Linked DNA regions of Homo sapiens: all the other regions are linked to region 1. Evidence: promoter capture Hi-C in 16 types of primary human blood cells and fetal thymus (Javierre and others, 2016). All regions are on one chromosome and are shown on one strand. The core of a region is centred on a gene start or on the middle of the fragment in contact, and the rest is flanking DNA. Distances in the headings are between cores, read along the strand shown. Region 1 holds the start of PFDN4 (prefoldin subunit 4). Region 2 overlaps RTF2 (replication termination factor 2). Region 3 holds the start of FAM210B (family with sequence similarity 210 member B). Region 4 has its middle 72 kb from the start of ZFP64. Region 5 has its middle 54 kb from the start of ZFP64.

Region 1 (2,749 bases), core at 81-2,580:
AGACTGAATGCAGAAGTAGACATGAGAATGTAACCTTCCATTAAGCCTGATATTAAAGAGATCAGTGAAAATGTAAAATGATGACAATCTTCTCAATTTATTTTTGTCTTAGAAAATATAGTTATTTTTAAAGTGTGATTTTTATTACCATGGAATGGAGTTTTATATTATTTTAAATGAATTAATAAATACATTTTAAAAATTCTGCTTTAATTTCTAATACAGCAAATATCGATAAATAACCCACATAAACAAAAGTTCTTTGGAGTCCTCAGTAATTTCCAGGAGTATAAAGAGGTCCTAAGGCAAAAAAAAAAAAAAAAATTACTAATTGGGAGACACAAGTGTCAGAATATACAGTAATTGTTCAGTAATATTGCTGTAAATTAATTAATAGGATTGCCTAGTCACAACAGCAAAGGCATGGAATCAACCCAGATGCCCATCAGTGGTGGATAGGATAAAGAAAATGTGGTCCATATACACCATGGAATACTATGCAGCCATAAAAAAGAACAAAATCATGTCCTTTGCAGCAACATGGATGCAGCTGGACATCATTATCCTAAGTGAATTAACACAGAAACAGAAAACCAACCACTCATGTTCCCACTTATGAGTGACAGCTAAACACTGGGTACTCGTGGACATAAAGGTGGGAACAATAAATGCTACGGATTCCAAAAACGGGGAAGGAGGCAGGGGAAAGGGGTTGAAAAATTACCTGTGGGGTACTATGTTCACTACTTGGGCAACGGGATCATTAGAAACCCAAACCTTAGCACCATGCAGTATATCCATGTAATAAACCGGCACACATACCCCCCGAATTTAAATTAAAAAAAAATTACATTAAAAGATAGGAGTACCTCCTTTACACCACCTGAATTATCATGGCACATAAATCTCACACCCTATTTGCCAAGGCCATTCGTTCCTAGCTGTTTTACAGGTAGGTTAGCTTTCTCAATGCAAGTCTGTGGGACGGATGGAGAAAAATTCCCCGAGCCCTTTGATCCTGCCCCAGCTGGGCCCCGCCGCGCTGAGCCTTGGGCGCGCCCCCTGCTGCCCGCGGCCGGAGCCGTTCGCCACACCCCCGTGTTTATGTCGGTCCACGGGGGTTGCCTGTCCCTTTAATTGGCATGTACCAAGTCCTTCCAGGTCACATTTCCTCCCTACGTCCCAGCCGTTTGGACTCACTGGCCAAAAGTCCAAGAGGACGGAATGTGGAGACAGTGTTGTATTTTTGCGGGGAGTTCTAGGCCGACCGGGAGCGAGAGAACGCTCGGGGGCGAAGCGCGCCATTGCGGCCCTCCCCGCCGCCTGCGGTAGTCCAGTCCCAAGATGGCGGCCACCATGAAGAAGGCGGTGAGTGGGGAGCTCGGGGCTCTGGATGCTCGGGCGGCGCCGGATCTCGGCCGCTGGGGCCCGGGCGCGGGATGCTGGGGGTGCGCAGCTCCGAAGCCCGGCGTGGGACCCGAGGCCGAGGCCGAGGCCCTGAGAGCGGTCCCGCGGCAAGGCCTGCTCGCGCCTGGCGCCCTGAGCGTTTTCCTAGGCACCTGGCCAGCCGAGGCGGGGCGCCGGGGCTGGGGCCGGGAGCCTCGAAGGACGCAGGTCCGCCTCCCGCGATGCCGAGGGTGCCCCCGGGGAGTCTGAGGAACCTGCAGCCCCGGCCTCGCCCCTGAGGTGTGGGAAGCCGAAGGTCCCGTTGAGTGTGGTTGGCCTTGACTCGGGCGTTGCACCGGCATGATCGCATTAGCCTCACTGGTTATGGGTAGCTGCTGCTGGGAGCGTGGTTACGGGTGAGGAAACTGAGGCCCAGAGATGGGGAGTCACCTGCCCGAGGTTACGCAGCTCATAACGGGGACAGCAGGTTCCTGCATCCCCAGATTAGCAGGCCCCAGAGACCCTGTGTCCAACCTGGAGCTGCCCATTTCCACGCTTGATGCCCCTGAGTCCTTCAGGCTAAAACCAGTATTTATTGAGAATGGAAGATGTGCCGGGCCCAGCAGCCGGCCGTTTATCTGTTATCCTCCCCGCAACTCAGCAAGTGCAATGGGTTCCTCTCCACTTTGCAGGTAGAGAAACTTAGACACAGAGCAGTTAGAGGCCCTAAAGTGACTCAGCTAGTAAGAAGCAGAGCTGGAGTTCAAACTCAGGTTTGTTTTTGTTTTTCTCAAAGCACGCCTGTGTAACCACTAAGCCGGCTAAACTTCCATGTGGGGTTTTTAATCCCGTGAGCCTTCCCAGATGTGTAAAGATAGTCAGATAGAAGAAAAAGAAAATTGGAGAGGGGGAAGGAGATAACGGCTGATAATTTGGGGAGCTTTACAGTGTGCTAGGTACAGCTGTAAGTTGTTTTGCGTGTATTGTTTATTTTATGTTCTTTGAGGGAGATACTGTTTTTATCCTTATTTAACAATGAGAAAACAGGCGCGGAGGCAAAGCTAGCATTTAAACACAGGCATTCTGACTCCGGAGTCTGTGTTTTAAACTGCTATAGGGGGTCTTTGATGAGAATCTCTTGGCTGGAGGGATTTGCGTTCATTCCACTTTTAAGACCACATTAGAACTTCTTTGCTTTGCCCCTATCCAGTACCACATAGTCTATGCCATCTGTGCCTGGTGTAGGGTGACCCATTGCCCCCTTTTATATGAAATTGAGGGACTGCCAAAAATGGGAAAGCCCCAGCCAACTCAGGATGTGTTGCTCACCCTACTATTCTGCCATCCAAAAATTCTTACTGTG
Region 2 (2,749 bases), core at 133-2,632, 2.3 Mb after region 1:
GAGGAACAGAGCCACGTCAGGATTGCACAAGGGACAGTAGAGACCAGGTGACGAACAGGAGCGAGCGTAGGCTCCTCCCGGCTCCTCGTGGAGGCCACCTTGGCTGTTGCGACTTTCTGCAGTTATGACAGGGCACTGGTTGAAATTCAGGAATACCTCAGGAAATTGTCTTAAAGATACATCTGTTGCCAACAAAGAATGAACGAGATAATGAATTATTTTTACTTTTATACTGTACATCAGAGTTGCCTTTGCAGAACTGTGTTGAATACTCTGTGCTAGTTTGTTGGGGCTGCTGTAATTAAGTACCCAAGCCGGATGACTTACCGGAAAGTCATTGTCTTATAGTTCTGGAGACTAACGTCCAAAATCAAGGTGTCATCAGGGTTAGTTTCTTCTGAGGGAAGGATCTGGTCCAGGCCTCTCATTGGCTTCTAGACGGCCTTCGCCCTGTTCACATCATCTTCCCTCTATCATGTCTGTCTTTGTGTCCACATTTTCCCTTATTAGGACACCAGTCCCGGTACTGGATTAGGGCCCAACTTAATGGCCTCATCTTAACTAATTACATCTGCATTGACTGTGTTTCCCAATAAGGTCACATTTTGAGGTACTAGGGCTTGGACTTCAACATATGGATTTTGCAGGGGGGCATAATTCAACCCATAATACACAATTTAGAAAATAAAATCATAGAGCGTGGGGCCAGACATGGTGGCTCACGCCTGTAATCTCAACACTTTGGGAGGCTGAGGTGGTTGGATCACTTGAGGTCAGGAGTTCGAGAACAGCCTGGCCAACATAATGAAACCCCGTCTCTACTAAAAATACAAAAATTAGCTGGGCTTGGTGGTGCATGCCTGTAGTCCGAACTACTTAGGAGACTGAGGCAGGAGAATTGCTTGAACCTGGGAGGTGGAAGTTGCAGTGAGCCAAGATCACGCCACTGCACTCCAGCCTGGGCGACAGAGCTAGACTCTGTCTCAAAAAAAAAAAGTGCCAATGTAGAGTACTGGAGTTGTGATCCGTAGCATTGGACTTGCTACCTCTGTGGCTTCATTTATGTAGGCTTTGTAGATAGGTGAATGGGGTGTGTGGATGTTTTAAAGTTAGAAGTCAAAAATATATATACTCACACTGTCTACCTGCTTTTCATGGAGGGGGTGGAGTAGAAAGAGAAAAAGTTAAGTTAGGGAAAAGGAGTGTCGTCAGAAGTGGTCAGTGCAGCTGATTCTGGTTTTCAGGCTTTGGCCTTCTTCAGAGTATCTTAGGTTTCTGCCATCTTTATAGTCTTTGTGAATATTTAGCCTCAAGGAATCAGATAAGACACAGCATAGGCAGCCTTAAACTTTCACATGTTCATTTTGTTCTTTCACTCTACCCATCAACAGACTGAGGGTCTGATAAGGAGAGAGTGAGCCTAGGCTTCTTGTTCTCATGCTCACGGAAGCTGCTGCTTTCCCTTGGCCTCCCTGGCCTGTCGCAGCTGCCTGTCTCAGCCTCCCTGCCTCTCGGCCTCCCTGCCTCTCAAGCCTCCCTGCCTCTCGGCCTCCCCACCTCTCTGACTCTTGGCCTTGTTTTCCATTGCTGTCCCCACTCTCCACTGAAGCCCAGTCTCAGGCTTTTACATTCCACATGCATTTAGTGTACTTTTATTATTCTGCTTTATCCTGCTGTTACTGAAATGATTTTTTTTTTTAGATGGAGTCTTGCTCTGTTGCCCAGGCTGGGGTGCAGTGGTGCAATCTTGGCTCACTATAACCTCTGCCTCCCAGGTTCAAGTGATTCTCCTGCCTTAGCCACCCGAGTAGCTGGGACTACAGGCGCCCACCACCATGCCTGGTTATTTTTTTTTTTTTTTTGTATTTTTAGTAGAGGCAGGGTTTCACCATATTGGCCAGGCTGGTCTGAAACTCCTGACCTCGTGATCCACCCGCCTCAGCCTTCCAAAGTGCTGGGATTACAGGCATGAGCCACCACGCCTGGCCATACTGAAATGATTTGTTCAGGACATGTCTTCATTATAGCATTAAGCCTGTTGGGGGCAGGTGTTTGTTTCAATTTGTGCTTCTTTGTGTGACGTAAGGTCATGTAGCTACCTGGGACTCAGTAGTCACACTGCAGAGTGTAGCTGCCTGGTCCAAATCCCAGCCCCACTTTCCCAGCTGTGTGGTCCCAGGAACATCCCATCATCTCCCTGTGCCTCGATTTTCTCATCCGTTAAAAGTGTCAGCCATTCTTCTGAGCACTTCCCCACCCAGGAGCACCCATGTCCTCCTAACGGTGCTGGTGGGCGGATGCTTTTACAGGGCCCCCTTCACGGTATGTGACTGGGTGTACCACGGGTTGACATTGGAATGAAGTGAAGGCAGGCTTATGTTTTAAGTAACTTGAAAGATGTAATCTTTTTTATTGTTCCTTTAATGGGGTTTACATTCAGTTGCTATTGAGTTATAAAATACCGGGGACATAATCGTGGCTAATCTGAGCTTTCTGAATGAACAGCCTGTCAGCATGTAGCCAGCTATCGCCTTTGGGGGCGCCGTGTTTGCCTGTAGAAATGTGTGGGAAGGTGGTGGTGGGCTGTCATGGGGCTCTTGTGTTCTTTTTGAAAGTCTTAATATTTTCCATATGTGCTTTCCTTGGATTAGATATCCAAGGGGAAGAAAGATTTGTTTAAACAAAGGTGTTACTTTTCTGTGGTTCCTTGATGTTTGATTTGTGGGATCTGTCTTCCAAATCCCTTTTC
Region 3 (2,749 bases), core at 122-2,621, 2.2 Mb after region 1:
TAGAGAGACAGGGTCTCGCTCTGTCACCCAGGCTGGAGTGCAGTAGCACCATCGTGGCTCCCTGAAACCTGGACCTCCTGAGCTCAAGCAATTCTGCGTCAGCCTCCCGAGTAGTTGGGACTACAGGTGCATGCCACCACACCAGGCTAATTTATTTTTATTTTTGTAGTGACAGGGTTTCGCTATGTTGCTCAGGCTGGTCTTGAACTCCTGAGCTCAAGTAATCCTCCCACCTCAGCCTCCCAACGTGCTTGGATTATAGGCATGAGCCATTCCACCCAGCCAGAACATCTTTATTGAAGTATAATTTACACAGCATAAAATTCATCCATGTTAAGTGTACAGTCCCACGAGTTTTAGTTACACAGCTGTCACCATCCCTACAATCTGGGTTTAGGATCCTTCCCTCACCCCAAGACGTTCCTCCCACTCCTTGGCAGTCAATCTCATTTCCCACTCCCAGCCCTAGGCCACCACGGATCTGTTTTAGGTCTCTGTGATTTTGCCTATTCTGGGCACTTCATGTAGCTGGAATCCTCCAGTGTGTGACTTTTGTGCCTAGATTTTTTCAATTGGCATAAGAGCTTTGAGATTCATTTATGTTGTGCATGTATCAGTAGTCTGTTCCCTTTAATTGTTGCATTGCGTCCCATTGAAGACTTGTGCCACAGTACGTCCCAGTTTATGGGCATTCCTAATTGTTGACTAATATTTATAAGATCTCTACAAACATTGGTGTCTTCACATTTTAGTCTTTGAGTGTCGAGCCTTTGTTTCTCTTGAGAAGCTACCGAGGAGTGGAGTTGCTGGGTTGTATGGTTAGTGTATGTCTAACTTTTCAAGAAACTGCCACACCATCTTTCGCTTTACATTCACGCCAACAATCTATGAGGGTCAGAGGACTTTTTATTAAACATGTACTAATATCAATTCTCATATTTATTTTCTTCTTTGGAGCTAACACGTAAACATATCTATAATTTTTTTTCAGATTTCACCCATTTCTGCAGGGAGAAAAGCTCATAAGCCACGGCCCTACGCCCACCTTTGTGCCCGCAGAATAAGGAAACCCGCCAACTACACACCACAGTTAGAAAGCCCAAGACCCTGAAAAGACCTGCACCCACCCCCAAAGGGGCGGGGCTGGTGGGCGGAGAGGAGGCGGGGCGCGCTCCTTCAGCCCCGCCCACCAGCCCTGGACTCCGGCTCCCGAGGAGCGGAGCTAGCGGGTGAGCCAAGGGGATGTGCACAGGCCTCCTCAGTCCCGCCCAGCGCGCGCGCGCGGCGGCGAAGCCGGCGGGCGGGGCCGGGGAGGGCCCTCGCCGGGTCAGCTCCGCCCACCCTCCCCGGCCTCCGCCCGCCTCCCGGGTCAGCGGCGCGGGTGCTGCGCCTAGCTGCGCACCATGGCCGGGTTGCTGGCGTTGCTGGGTCCGGCAGGCAGGGTGGGCGCCCGGGTCCGGCCTCGCGCCACCTGGCTCCTGGGCGCCACCGCCCCCTGCGCCCCGCCGCCCCTGGCCCTGGCCCTGCTCCCGCCCAGGCTAGACGCCCGGCTGCTCCGCACGGCGCGCGGGGACTGCCGCGGCCACCAGGTAAGCACCCCACCCCGACCCTGATCCCGGGCGGTGTCCAGGTCCCCAGACGTCCGCAGGGCCGCGCCGGGGTCCGGCCGCCTCCGCCAAGGACGCCTTTGCACTTGTAGCTGCCCGGGACCGAGCTCTTCCAGGGTCCCCGAAACCCCAAATCCCTGCAAGCCAAGGAAGCGATCCTCCTAGTTGACAGCCAGAGAAACTGAGGCTCGGGAAGGTGTGGCGCTCTGCCCAAGGTCGCGCAGTCTTCGGCCGAGCCCCGGGTCTGCAGAGCCTCAGCCAGGCTGGGGCGCAGCCGACTGACTTGGTCTGAACTTCCACACGTTGCCTGCGGAGTTGTTGTCCAGGCCTTCTGGCTGGGTCTCGCTGTGTTTTGAACACCTCCCGACGCTCGCTGCTCCTCCCTTTTCTTCTGAGTGGAAGAGCAGGCGTCCTCAGGGAAGCCGCGGGCAAGAAACCCACAGTGCTGTTTGTTATGTTTCATTTCCGTCACTTTCCATTGGTGCTAAGTGAAAACTGGTTTTCCTTCAGAGCAGTCATACCAGCTTTCCTTTCAAGAAATCTATCACTTTCTTCCAAGTGAGTCTTTTTAAATAAAAATAGTAGTAAATGAAGTCTGGCGGTCCAGGAATGGCAAGCCCAGACACGCGGAGCCGGCGTCCAGCCCGGAGCGCATCCGGCCTGGCAGTCTGGAGCCTCTTTGTTTGCCTGGGTGCAGACAGGGCCCCTCCATTCATCGCCCGGTGACCTCAGACCGAGTCCTGAAGGCTTTTGAGCTTGTTTTCTGACCTTTAGAGGGCCAAAAATAGCACCTTCCCAGCAAGAGTTTGGGAGACAACTCCATGAGCTGGTGCAGGCCTCAGCGGAGTGCCGCCGGCCCAGCGAACATCTCCTGACCGTTTCCTAGCTTTTCAGTAAGGAGCGGATGGGGATTGGACCCAGGCTTTCATCATGCCTCCTGCCCAGATCAACTTCCTTCCTTGCCTTCTCCAGTCCGACAGGTGGCACACAGGTCTTGGGGATCCTCTCCAGAGTGGCACCTTCTGCACACACCGTGCCGCCTCCTGATGATTCTTCAGGGCCCAGCCCAGCTGTTCCTTCCTCCGGGAAGCCCTCTCTAACGACCTGTGAGGTCTCGGATGCCTCCACTGGGCCTGCTTCCA
Region 4 (2,749 bases), core at 93-2,592, 2.1 Mb before region 1:
AAGCAAGTCTTTAAAGAAGTTGCAGAGCAATCAGGAGGATAAATAAGTAAACAGCTATAGTACAGTGTGATAAATATGTGATAAAGGTTCTCACAGAGTGGGCAGGTAAAGCTTCCTCAGAGAGGTGGATTTGTAGCCCTGGCTATGTAGGATGAGATCTTGGGCAGGTAAAGAAGTGAAGTAGGTTGGGTGCAGTGGCTCGCGCCTGTAATGCCAACACATTGGGAGGCCAAAGTGAATGGACTGCTTCCGGCCAGGAGTTAGAGGCTGGCTGGGGCAACATAGTGAAACCCCGTCTCTACAAAAAATACAGTAATTAGCTGGGTGTGGTGGTGTGTGCCTGTGGTGGCAGCTATCAAAAAAGGTCGAGGGCAGGAGGATTGCTTGAGCCTGGGAGCTGGAGGCTGCAATGAACTATGATCATGCCATTGCATTCCAGCCTGGGTGACAGAGCAAGACCCTGTCTCAAAAATAAAGTAAAATAAATAAAAGCAAAAAAGAAGTGAGTTGAAGTGGGTTTCAGGTAGGGGGACAGCTTGTACAAAGACCAGGAGGGAAGCTGGGTTCGGTGGTTCACGCCTGTAATCCCAGCACTTTGGGAGGCTGAGGTGGGTGGATCACCTGAGGTCAGGAGTTCAAGATCAGCAGGCCAACATGTCGAAACCCCGACTCTACTAAAAATACAAAAATTAGCCGGGCGTGGTGGTGCACAGCTGTAATCCCAGCTACTCAACTACTCAGGAGGCTGAGGCAGGAGAATCGCTTGAACCCAGGAGGCGGAGGTTGCAGTCAGCCAAGACTGTCACTTCACTCTAGCCTGGGAAACAGAGTGAGACTTCATCTAAAAAAAAAAAAAATATATATATATATATATATACATATATATATATACACACACAACACACACACACACACACACACATATAAACACAAAAAAATTAGTCAGGCATGGTGGCGTGCACCTGTAGTCCCAGCTACTCTGGAGGCTGAAGCAGGAGACTTGCTTGAACCTGGGAGGCGGAGGTTGCAGTGACAGAGAAAGACTCTGTCTCAAAACAAACAAAAAAACAACCAAACAAAAAACAACCCCTCCCCACTCACTACAAAGACCAGGAGGCAAAGAGACGGCACTTTTGAGAAACCTTAGTCTGACTAGAGGTGCAGGGAGTACAGGAGATAAGGTGAAGGAGTTGGGTGGGGAGGAGGTGTGAAGGGTTTCATATGGCAAAAAGAATATGATTAAATAATTTCCTATTTTTCCTTTCCCCTGTGAATGTTTGTGCCTCCCCACAATTCATATGTTGAAATCCTAACCCCCACATGATGGTATTAAGAACACGGCTTTGGGCAGGTGTTTGGATCATGGAGCTGGAACTCTCCTGGAAGGAATTAGTGCCCTTATAAAAGAGGCATCAGAGAGCTGCCTTCCCCTTCCACCATGTGTGGACACAGCTAGAAGGTGCCATTTATGAGAAAGTGGGGTCCTTGCCAGACACCGAATCTGCCAGTGCCTTGATCTTGGACTTTCCAGCCTCTAGAACTGCAAGAAATAAATTTTTGTTGTGTGTAAGCTACCCAGTCTACGGCACTTTGTTATAGCAGTTAGAGGGTGTCTGGGACACCCTCTTTCCCCTGTTAAACCTCAGACACATCCAGAGGCAAATCTCAGGCCTGGTTTGGGAAGGTGCCTGAGAGCCAATGAAGGAGAATGATGATCCTCGTCGTGGTAATGACTATGAGGATGGAAAGAGGGCATCGATAGATGGCTCACCATGTGCGTATACGCCACTTTATCGCACGTCACAGACACTGTGTGTTTTTTTCTTTTTTTACAAGTTGAAGGTTTGTGTCAACCCTGCATCCAGCAAGTGTATCGGCTTCATTTTTCCAATGGCATGTGCTCACTTTGTGTTTCTGTGTCATGCTGAGATAATTCTTGTAATATTTCAAACTTTATCATTTATTATATCTGTTAATGTGATCAGTGATCTTTTTTTTTTTTTTTTTTTTTTTTTTTGAGACGGAGTCTTGCTCTGTCACCCAGGCTGGAGTGCAGTGGCGTGATCTCGGCTCACTGCAACCTCCATCTTCCAGGTTCAAGAGATTCTCCAGCCTCAGCCTCCCTAGTAGCTGGGATTACAGGCATGTGCCACCATGCCCAGATAATTCTTGTATTTTTAGTACAGATGGGGTTTCGCCATGTTGGCCAGGCTGGTCTCAAACTCCTGACGTCAGGTGATCTGCCCGCCTTGGCCTCCTAAAGTGCTGGGATTGCAGGCATGAGCCACCTCACCCAGTCCATGATCAGTGATATTTGATGCTACCCTCGTAACTGTTTTAGGGTGCCATGAACTGTGCCCATGTAAGACGGGAACTTAATTGACAAGTGTTGTGTGTGTTCTGACTGCTCCACTGACCAGCCAGTCCCTTCTCTCTCCTTTTCTTCGAGCCTTTCTATTCCCTGAGACACAACATTGAAATTAGGCCAATTAATAACCCCACAGTGACCTATAAGTGTTCATGTGAAAGGGAGGGTGGTGCATCTCTCACTTTAAATCACAAGCTGGCAATGATTAAGCTTAGTGAGAAAGGCATGTCAAAAGCCAAGGCAGGCTGAAAGCTGGGCCTTTTGAGTCCAACAGCCAAGTCAAGGATGCAAAGGAAAAGTTCTTGGGGGAAGTTAAAAGTGCTACTCCAGTGAACACATGAGTGATAAAAAAGTGAACCAGCCGGATTTTTGATATGGTGA
Region 5 (2,749 bases), core at 95-2,594, 2.1 Mb before region 1:
CTCTCAAAAAAAAAAAAAAAAAAAAAAAAGAAAAAACCAAAAAAAAGAACAACAACAACAACAACAACAAACAGGCATGATTAAGGACATCAATTCTCAGATCCTTAACTTCTAGGCATACCTTTTCCTAAAACTGATCACCTAAGAACGCGCAGAGAAAGTGACCCATTATTAATAAACCATACTGAACCAATGCATGGAGCCATAAAATCTGAGATATCACAGCATCAATGTTGAGAAGGCAAGTGATTCCATAATTGGGAAAGAAACCCCAGGTTGTTTTCAGTTCTTTGTTTTTAATAAAATTGACCCAATTAATGACAACTGATCAATATGTGATTTTCTGGCATAGAATTCAGAAAAAATTAAAATAATTGAGAAATATTGCTATAACAATACAACTTGTATTTCTATATTCTTATTTATGTGAATAAAACTCAGAGTTTACATCAATAAAAAAGAATTTGACACATAACTGAAAATAAACTGTATCTCATTCTAGCAACTGCTGAAAAATGGTTTTTTAAAAATTCATAATCATAAAGAATATATAAGCTAACTAAAAACCAGGCCTATCTACCTCATTAAAATAGAAAAACACCAGTACCTTGCTTATATTTAATAACTGTTTTTCAAATTATATAATATATATATGTTGCTTTGGTCAAAAGTTCCTAATTATCTTGTTTTTTTGAGATGGAGTCTCACTCTGTCTCCCAGGCTGGAGTATAGTGGCGTGATCTCGGCTCACTGCAACCTCTGCCTCCCGGGCAAGTGATTCTCCTGCCTCAGCCTCCTGAATAGCCGGGACTACAGGCATCCACCACCACACCCAGCTAATTTTTGTATTTTTAGCAGAGATGGGGTTTTGCCATGTTGGCCAGGCTGGTCTCAAACTCCTGACCTCAGGTGATCCACCCACCTTGGCCTCCCAAAATGCTGGGATTACAGGTGTGAGCCACCGTGCCTGGCCCTAATGGTAATTTGATATTGAAGAAATGTCTAAAGCTTGGAGCCCTGTGATCATAGAAAATAAAAGATGTGAATTTCAATTTATATAGCCATAATTTTGTTGCTGAGAAGTATGATGAAATAAATAATAATTTTTAAGATTAATAATATTTCCTATTTTGAAGCCCTGCTCTCTATCTGAGAAGTTTCAGAGATGGGTTCTCTCCACCTGACTGGCTAGAATGAGCCACTGCCTTGCTTTTTTTCCTGGTAACACCATCATTTTGTCTCAACTTTGCTGGGCTACAGGACCTAGGGCATCTAAGAAGTGGATCAGATTGGGATCCAACTTTTCATCTCCACCAGAACAGAGTTTAACGACTACTGAAGAAAAAAAGATCTTATGTCCAAGGGTATAATTCATCTGCCAGGACAAAAGAAGTCCCACCTATGTGCCCTTCTGAGGAATATGCTCCAGGAAGTACTCCAACCAAATGAAAATGAAATCAGAGTAAAAGCGCAACATAGGGAAGCTGAAGGGTGTAAGAAACTATGGTGAACAATGAATGCAGTAATTTTTGGTTAAATCTAAATGGAGATGGTCAATTGGGAATTTGAATGTAAGAGACATACCATAGGGCAAAACTTAACAAAGGCCTAGAAATAAACTTATAAGTCATCTCAGCAAAACTCAGAATTTGAGGATGGCGGCTGTAGAAGATGAAGTCCAAAAGCTTCCTCTCATCAGGGAAGAATTTCTTAATGGAAGATTGAGGCACGGTTAATGTTTACTTTTTACACAGCAGTAGGCAAATATATATTTAACAATCATTGTTAAATATTGGAAAGCAGGCCCGGTGCACTGGCTCATGCCTCTAATCCCAGCACTCTGGGAGGCAAAAGCGAGCAGATTGCTTGAGCCCAGGAGTTCGAGACCAGCCTGGGAAACACGGAAAAACCCCATCTTTACAAAAATAAATAAATAAATAAATAAATAAATAAATAAATAAATAAGCAAGCCAGGCATGGAGGCACACATCTGGAGTCCCAACTACTTGGGAGGCTGAGGTGGGAGGATCACTTGGGCTGGGGAGGTAAAGGCTGCAGTGAGCCAAGATCACTCCACTGCACTTTAGCCTGGGAGACAGAGACCCTATCTCAAAAAAACAACACACAAAAAATTGGAATGTAACTGTCAGCAGGATGGAGATGAATATATAACTTTCTAGAGATAGGAAATAAAGTTAAAAAGGAAAAAGGAGAAAACCACAAACTTTAATAAATAGCAAATATTAAATAAGATGGAAGTGAATAATAGCACATATATATTACTGTAATAAATACAAATGATTTGAATTGTCCTATCAAAGACAAGGAGAGGCTGATAAAGAAAGATACTGAATAACAGAATGGGCAGATATGAACCAGGCAAATGAAAAAAAAATACAAAATAAGACTTAGAATGTTATTATGAGATAAAGCATGATTTAAGGCCAAAAGCTATTATTACATAGAAGGAACAGGTACATGAGAAAAAAAGGAAAAAATGACAAAGAACGTAGAACAGCTACAAACTTTATATGCATCAAACAACATATGGCAAAATATAATAAAAAAAAAAGCACCCTGGTAATATAAGGAAAGCTTAGTTTTAAAAATGCAATCCTCGAGAGAGATTTTTTAAATATTTCTTTCAGAGTTTACCAAATAGATACAAACTAAGAAAGGATTAGAAGAATTGAATAATTCATAAAAATTTAAACTCTACAGAGACTGTGTATTCTTCTCTAATAGTCAC

What was found. The method cuts DNA at HindIII sites, captures the fragments that hold promoters and counts their contacts. A CHiCAGO score of 5 or more calls a contact.
Region 2: a contact is called between a fragment that was not itself captured here and the fragment with the promoter of PFDN4 in region 1, in 1 of 17 cell types (M2 macrophages). The highest score is 5.5, in M2 macrophages.
Region 3: the fragment with the promoter of FAM210B here is called in contact with the fragment with the promoter of PFDN4 in region 1 in 3 of 17 cell types (M0 macrophages, erythroblasts and M2 macrophages); the score reaches 10.0 in M0 macrophages.
Region 4: a fragment that was not itself captured here is called in contact with the fragment with the promoter of PFDN4 in region 1 in 2 of 17 cell types (naive CD4 T cells and total CD4 T cells); the score reaches 8.5 in naive CD4 T cells.
Region 5: a contact is called between a fragment that was not itself captured here and the fragment with the promoter of PFDN4 in region 1, in 2 of 17 cell types (non-activated CD4 T cells and naive CD4 T cells). The highest score is 7.2, in non-activated CD4 T cells.

What each region holds. Positions count from the first base shown.
Region 1 is chr20:54,206,757-54,209,505 of GRCh38, forward strand. It overlaps PFDN4 (prefoldin subunit 4), which reads left to right and starts at 1,331. Exons shown (of 4, transcript NM_002623.4): 1 at 1,331-1,368. The coding sequence starts at 1,345. It overlaps LOC124904937 (a long non-coding RNA gene), which reads right to left and starts at 1,285. Exons shown (of 2, transcript XR_007067669.1): 1 at 1,201-1,285; 2 at 190-300. RefSeq lists enhancers at 728-1,545, 1,086-1,405, 1,546-2,362 and a silencer at 1,396-1,665. The HindIII fragment of the contact is 8,273 bases long and covers 1-2,749 here.
Region 2 is chr20:56,487,376-56,490,124 of GRCh38, forward strand. All of the region lies in intron 5 of RTF2 (replication termination factor 2), which reads left to right. Among named protein-coding and RNA genes, the nearest start is that of RTF2, 20 kb to the left of the region's middle. The HindIII fragment of the contact is 2,876 bases long and covers 1-2,749 here.
Region 3 is chr20:56,357,603-56,360,351 of GRCh38, forward strand. It overlaps FAM210B (family with sequence similarity 210 member B), which reads left to right and starts at 1,372. Exons shown (of 3, transcript NM_080821.3): 1 at 1,372-1,589. The coding sequence starts at 1,404. RefSeq lists a silencer at 1,049-1,648. The HindIII fragment of the contact is 7,749 bases long and covers 1-2,749 here.
Region 4 is chr20:52,118,678-52,121,426 of GRCh38, forward strand. It overlaps a transcript of ZFP64 not described here. Among named protein-coding and RNA genes, the nearest start is that of ZFP64, 72 kb to the right of the region's middle. The HindIII fragment of the contact is 2,467 bases long and covers 110-2,576 here.
Region 5 is chr20:52,136,092-52,138,840 of GRCh38, forward strand. It overlaps a transcript of ZFP64 not described here. Among named protein-coding and RNA genes, the nearest start is that of ZFP64, 54 kb to the right of the region's middle. The HindIII fragment of the contact is 677 bases long and covers 1,007-1,683 here.